Regions from separate parts of the Homo sapiens genome. Here region 1 is linked to region 2. The links are contacts of gene promoters, found by promoter capture Hi-C in blood cells and fetal thymus (Javierre and others, 2016). All regions are on one chromosome and are shown on one strand. Each heading gives the region's core, a stretch centred on a gene start or on the middle of the fragment in contact. The rest is flanking DNA. Distances are from core to core; before and after follow the strand shown. Region 1 overlaps SACS (sacsin molecular chaperone). Region 2 holds the start of PARP4 (poly(ADP-ribose) polymerase family member 4).

Region 1 (3,445 bases), core at 527-3,026, 1.1 Mb before region 2:
TCCTGACCTCAGGTGATCTGCCCACCTCAGCCTCCCAAAGTGCTAGGATTACAGGCGTGAGCCACCGCACCCAGCCAGAGGTATACTACAATTTATGAACATTCTTTTTGACACCAAAGCTCCCCGGAGTAGAAGTGAGATATTAGGAGTCTATTGGTTAGGGTTCTTATTGGATTAATAATTTATTAGTTTATGGCTTTCTTATCATGTTTCCTTTCATTTTCCTTGTTCTCTCCTCTCCTTCAATCTTTCTTCCCACCCAACTTCCAAACAATGTCGAGGGTACTCCTAAAGCGGAAAATACACAAAAGCATGGCCTTTCACAACATCTTTCCAAATGCAGGAAAGTGTTACTATACATAAATGGTGTCCCTTTATCCTACTGATAATATAAAATACAAGTTGTTTGAATAGAATAAGAGGCTTTGGTCATTACATTGCTTGTCATTTTGAGTTTTCAGATTTTATTCTTTGTTCTCTAAAAATACCAACTGGTGGAGACACCTTCCCACCAAAAGCAGAGAAAAACATCTGAAGAAGTGGACATAAACATGCCAAAAAGTACAAATGATAGACTGTTCATTAAACAAAGCATTATTAATCATTAAAAACTGCCTGTTAGTGCATACAATAAAATTTGTTCCTAATTATTGATTCTTACCCTGATATGGCGCCATATCTTTTGACCAAAGAGTCTCTGTTCCGTATTGAGTTTCATCATATAAAAATTTAACTTCTGTCGCCCCAGCATCTTCTGCATTCTGAATTAATTCCTAACCAAAAAATATACCAAAAAATAGTAATTAATAACACAGTAATCTACTGCTCATCTTTGTATTTATCTATAATATTTAAGAAGTTAATATACTTAAATAAAGGAAACCCACTATTTGCAACATTACCTTTAAGATCTGGTGAGGCTACTACTGAAAGTAATTGTTACATAGATGTGACAGTATGGTTGAAAAGTCCTTCTCCAATTATTTGCACTTAAATTTTGTCTTTTAATTTGCTATCACTTAGCAAATTAATCCTGGGCCCTATTTATAACTGTCTCATATTTACAATCTACCCAAAGCTTTTGTTCAAAGGAAATTATTCTATTTCCAAAAGCTGCACATATCGTCCTGTGTGGCAGGTAACTTAAGCTTGAGTGATTGCCAAAAATAGACCTTTTTTATCCTTTGCTTACTAAACTTACCTTTCCACAGAAAAACAATAAAACCAAATAGTAGCAATCTATATATACCCTTCAATTGGCTGCTTTCTTGAGAGCCTGAGATATAAAAATGTCTTTGTCCTGCACTAAACTGAAAGCTTCCAGATGGTCAGGACTGACTCATTCCTTTCATCAAGAAGAAAGCACTACCATTTGTTTGGTGAATGGTGGGTGAGTGGAAGGGTGACCAGCTCCCCGTAATGTAGAAAGGAAAGGGCAAACTGCAAGATTTGCCTCAACAAAATTTCCAATCCTAACAACCCCAATCACTTCTGCACACCTACTAAAATCACGCTGGGCTCCGTTCAGTTTGAAGGGAGCTCCAGAATCTGAATCAAGAATCAGCTCCTAGATCCAACCCCATGATCATCAAAAGAGCTTTTTTACTTCCCCAGAGCCTTGGGATCACTAAATTGGAGGTACAGATGGGCAAAAATTGAAGAGCACTTTAACTGATACTACAACAATGTCAACAGTGATGCCTACATCAGAGTAGAGAGGTGGTACGATGACTACATGAAACAAAATAACTACAAGGAGACTGAGGGAGCAGAAGTGAAAAGTCAGTTCTGAGATTGTGCTCAGTTCACCCAGTGCATCCCAAAGGGCTGGAGTGTGGTACCCACCAGCTGTTCCACCCCAAACATGAACAGCTAAGTCGTGCCTCCTGCAGCCTCATTATCAGCTAGTGATTCTTCCTTGTTACGTAACTAACTATTTCTCATGGGATTTTAATTTTTTAGGCCTCATTCAATCCCAGAGAATCCCTAAAAATTAACAATCTTATTTACATTAGGATATTATAATAATATGAAGGATGGAAATAAGAATTAAATAGGTAGTGAAAAACAATGTTAACTTACAAAATGATAGCACTTTAGATGTTCGACCTTGTTTTCATTCAGGTATCTATTTATTATTTATGTGTACTTTAGGGAGCAGAGAGGCAGAAAACTAAAGATAAAATCTAAGTCCCAGGTTCCACTCATTCTCAAGTTGAATAAAAAATAGGATAGGAAGCTTTTCCCCTAAATTGCAATCCTGAGAGATTGTTTGTAAACTAACTCTGGGAAACAGCAACAATACATTTTGTATTTGGTCTTGGGCAAGCCACTAAGATCTCTGGACCTGTTTCAGCAAACACAAATACCATAGAAGGTGGTGGTGTAGGTCTTGGTGATTTCTAAGACTCCTATTAAATCTAAAACAGTCTAATTCTACCACAACATCCAAGGAACAAAGATTACATTGAACTGGCTACAATACAAATATATCTATAAGCAAAGCAGAAGGCGCGTAGCCCTCAGCTGTTTGCCATAGACCTTTCTCATTTCTCAGCAAGGATCCCACTCGCTCACTTCTAAACAGATGACAACCTACTCCTGTTACCACTATACCTTTATTTTAAATGTATTCTATTCACTTCTTTCTACCCCAAAACCACCTCGTAGCAATACTCTTTCCATCCTCACTTTCCTAATAAGTCAATACAAAAACTGTTTTTGAATTCGCTTTCTGTGAACCACTGGTGCCTATGCTGAAAGATGGACTGCTCCAACAGCCCAGTCTCACCATGATCACTAAAGACACAACAGTCCTCAGTGAGTGCCTACCTGAGCATGACTCTCTTAAATTAAAGAGACCTAGTCCTGATTCCCTCACAGTTTACAATCTAAACTAGAAAATATAACCAGGGCCAAGATACTGAAGGTAATAAACACTAAACAAGCTAATGGGAAGGAAAATGCATAACAACTGGTCTACTTTGACAATTAAGGAAGTTTCTTATTAAACACAAAATCTAATTTTTGCAGTATCTCCCATTATTGCTTTCTTTGATGATTATTGGTTTTTCTTTTTTTGTTGTTTTATTGTTTGTTTGTTTTTTGAGACGGAGTGTGGCTCCTGCTGCCCAGGCTGGAGTGCAGTGGCGCAATCTCGGCTCACTGCAATCTCTGCCTCCGGGTTCAAGCGATTCTCCTGCCTCAGCCTCCTGAGTAGCTAGGATTACAGGCAGCCACCACCATGCCTGGCTAATTTTTGTACTTTTAATAGAGACGGGGTTTCGCCAAGTTGGCCAGGCTGGTCTCGAACTCCTGACTTGAGGTGATCCACCCGCCTCAGCCTCCCAAAGTGCTGGGATTACAGGCATGAGCCACTGCGCCCAGCCTGTTTTTTAAAGAGTATAATCAAACTAAAAAAACATATTACAAAAAGAAATAAGTA
Region 2 (3,631 bases), core at 765-3,264:
TACATACACATAGTTGTGAAATCAAAGTATAAACATTTTATTTTATTTGAGACAGGGTCTGGCTCTGTCTCCCAAGCTGGAGTGCAGTGGTGTGGTCACTGTCACAGCTCACTGCAACCTCGACCTCCCTCCCAGCAATCCTTTCACCCGGCCTACTTAGTAGCTGGGACCACAGGCCTGCACCACCATGCCCAGCTAATTTTGGTAGAGACAGGGTTCTTACTATGTTGCCAAGGCTGGTCACAAACTCCTGGGCTCAAGCCATCCTCCTGCCTCAGCCTCCCAGAGTGCTGGGGTTACAGGTGTGAGCTGCCACGCCCGGCCCAGAGTAAAAACATTTTAAACATAAATCTGCGGTCTGTTCTTAGCACCTGCGGCTGCGTGGGAGGTATGGAAAGGCGCACTTTGGGTTTCGTGAAATCTCAAGTCAGGTCTTGACTTCTCTCTTTCCACAGATTCATCTCTAGTCTCTGTAAAATGCCAGCCCTCTTCTGGGTTAACAGCGCCTAACCGACATGCGCCACTAGTTCTTCCTTGTTTCAAAGTGTTCTCTAAACACAGAGTTAGTTCATGTTTTCATCAGCGCTGATTACGTACATATGAGATGTGGCGGACACTGGGCTAGGGGCTGGTTATTCTCTAAGGCAAATCTGCACAGTCACTCCAGCCTGTCCCCCTTCCCAGCTTCTTCCCCAAATAACATTCACAGAGTGTCTTCCACCCAAAGACAGCAGGGAACAGCCCCGATTCCTAAGAAACCCTCAGCGCGCCTCCTCACAAACTCTTGGCTGCTCCATAAACCATTGGTGTAGGTGGAATCAAGTGGCTTCCTGCTTCACAGGTCTTCGTCTTTACCACTGGCATTTCCTCCTCTCGGAAAACCCTGAGGAGTCCCTTTCTGGGCAGTCTTGATTCTACAGCCTCCGCCTTCCGAAGTGTGTGAGTCAGCACACGCTAAGATCACTTTTGATATACAGTGGGCATTCAATAAAAGCTTGCTTACTAAAAACTCTCACGTATCCATTAAAGCCCAGGATTACAGAAAAGCCTTCTGACACTATTTGCATTTTGGACTCAAATGGCATCAGTAATGCACCTCCCTAATGGGTTTATTAAACCCTTAAACAACAAAGGTACTACTTTTATTTCACTCCTACATGATATACAGTAGCTCTACGCACACAAACAAGACCTAATGTTTACTTAATAAATGATAAAGTCAGATGTAATGAGTCTGCAACACGCACATCTCAGAGCGAACTTCCCCTTTATCATAGCACTATGCTTGGATATTGTCATATAATTGTTGTCATCCAGCAGTCCAGAATTGAAAGTGCTTGGGCTTGAATATTTAGCAGCGCCTTAGTTTTCTAGAACCTGTGATCTACCAACTCGATCCCTGGGTGAACCATTCGGCCCTCCTAGCAGGAATTACTTAACTGAGTTAGAGGTTTTCAACTTTGGACCTCAACAAACACATTGTTTCTATCACGGTGTTCCCAATGACTCACGAGGTCAGATAGTACTTCCTGATTACTCACCAAACCACCTTACTTTTTGCACAATTCGAAACCTAACTTTAGGAAAGAAGGCCGTTTGGCATACTGGAAACAAGAAACAACGCGTGCTACTGCGAACCGCACCGCACGGGGTGCGGAGACTTGGTGTGACTGTCGGCTCCGGTGGGCGCCCCCCACCGCACCCGGTTTCTCGTCACCAGGGCTGCGCCGCGGGGCAGAGCGGAACGACCGCAATATCCCTCCCCGAGGGCGCTGGCTGCACTAGCTAGTCCACTCCCGAGCCTAGCAGCGCCGTCAGGCCCACAGCGCCAACGCCGCGCAGGGCAAGGGTGCAGCCACTGGCGGGAAAGTAGTACGCGGGCCACTTCCTGGCTAGGACTACAGGGACCTTTGCAGCCCCCCACCCCGCAGCGCCCACGCACCTGCCTAGAGGATCCAGCTAGCTCCGGACGCTCCCCGATTCCGCGCTCCTTGCTCGCGGTACTTCCGTAATCTAGGCTCTCCCTGCCCCCGGGGCTGGGCGGGCGCCACTGCGCCGGAACCCCGCCCCGCACCAGGCGGGCGCAGCGTCCCAAGCAGGGACGATAGCCGGAACGCGCCCGGAATCGGGTCCGCCAGGTGGGGAGCGGGTCCCCGGCCTCTGGCGGGGTTTCTCTTCCAAGATCAGCCGGAGGGTTCAGGGCTTTCAGTTTCATATTTCAGGAGGGATTTTGTCAATGAGGATTAATACAAAGCTCGGCTTTGAGAGAGGTGGGTGGATGGTGCTGTCCTTTAACTGAGAAATGGAAGGGATTCACAAGGCCGGGAAAGAAGAAAATTTCGGGAAAGTTCGTGGAAACAGGAGAGTGAGATAATAAATTTACTTTAAGCCTTCCTGCGTTTGAAATTCGTGACAGTGTAACTAGTTGGAAATATATTTATCTGCCATTCAAGAGAGGCAGGGGGCTGGAGATACAGATCTGAGATTCACTGAAATGGGAATAAAGCAATGGGGAAGATTCAGATTTTTAGGATACTGAATAAAATGAGAATAGAAAGGATAGAGTAGAGAATACAGTGGAAAGGGTATGGGGTTGAATCCTGACTCCACAATTTATTACCAAGGGGGCTGGGGACAAGGTAATTTACCAAGTTTCATCATTACAACCTACTCTATAGGGTTGTCTAAGAAACAACAAGAGATTCTGGGGGAGGAGAGAGACTGATTCCTAGAGTTACCACATCGTAATGCTCAAAATGTCCAATCTTCAACAAAAAATTATGAGGCATGCAAAAAAAAAGGCGAAAAAATGGCCAATTCAAAGGAAAAAAGAAATGAACAGAAATTGTCCCTGAGCTGAGGAAGCACAGACATAGGAATTATTAGACAAATACTTCAAATAAACTGTCTTAAACATGGACAAAAAGTGAAAGGAAACATAGAAAAATAACTGAAAGAAACAACCAGGAGAACAAAGTCTCAATAAATAGAGAATATGCAATAGAAGATGTGCAAATGGTCAACAAGCATGAAAAAAAGCCCAGCATAACTAATTATCAGAAAAGTGCAAATTAAAACTGCAATGAGATACCATCTTACACCAGTCAGAATGGTTATTATTAAAAAGTCAAGGAACAACAGATGCTGGCAAGGCTTTATTGAAAAGGAAATGCTTATACACTGTCAGTGGGAATGTAAATTAGTTGAACCACTGTGGAAACCAGTTTGAAGATTTCTCAAAGTGCTGAAAACAGAACTGCTATTCAACCCAGCTATCCCATTACTGGGTACATATTCAAAACAAGAGAACTCATTCTACCAAAAAGACACATGCACTAGTATGTTCGTCACAGCACGCTTCACAATAGGAAAGACATGGAATGAACTTAGGTGCTCATCGACAATGGACTGGATAAAGAAAATGTGGTACATTTGCACCATGGAATACTACGAAGCCATAAAAAGAATGAATGGAATCATGTCCTTCACAGCAACGTGACTGCAACTGGAGGCCATTGTCGTAAGTGAATTAATGAAGGAACAGAAAACCAAATACCACATGTTCTAATTTGTAAGTGGGAGCTAAACACTGGGTACTCATGGATATAAAGATGGCAACAATAGACACTGG

What was found. Contacts are between HindIII fragments. The CHiCAGO score rates a contact against its expected background, and 5 or more counts as called.
Region 1: a contact is called between a fragment that was not itself captured here and the fragment with the promoter of PARP4 in region 2, in 1 of 17 cell types (non-activated CD4 T cells). The highest score is 6.0, in non-activated CD4 T cells.

What each region holds. Positions count from the first base shown.
Region 1 is chr13:23,364,505-23,367,949 of GRCh38, forward strand. SACS (sacsin molecular chaperone) reads right to left here. Exons shown (of 10, transcript NM_014363.6): 6 at 662-773. Among named protein-coding and RNA genes, the nearest start is that of SACS-AS1, 53 kb to the right of the region's middle. The HindIII fragment of the contact is 922 bases long and covers 1,316-2,237 here.
Region 2 is chr13:24,510,764-24,514,394 of GRCh38, forward strand. PARP4 (poly(ADP-ribose) polymerase family member 4) reads right to left here and starts at 2,015. Exons shown (of 34, transcript NM_006437.4): 1 at 1,943-2,015. All of the region lies in intron 1 of LOC105370117 (a long non-coding RNA gene), which reads left to right. RefSeq lists a silencer at 2,013-2,172. The HindIII fragment of the contact is 3,630 bases long and covers 993-3,631 here.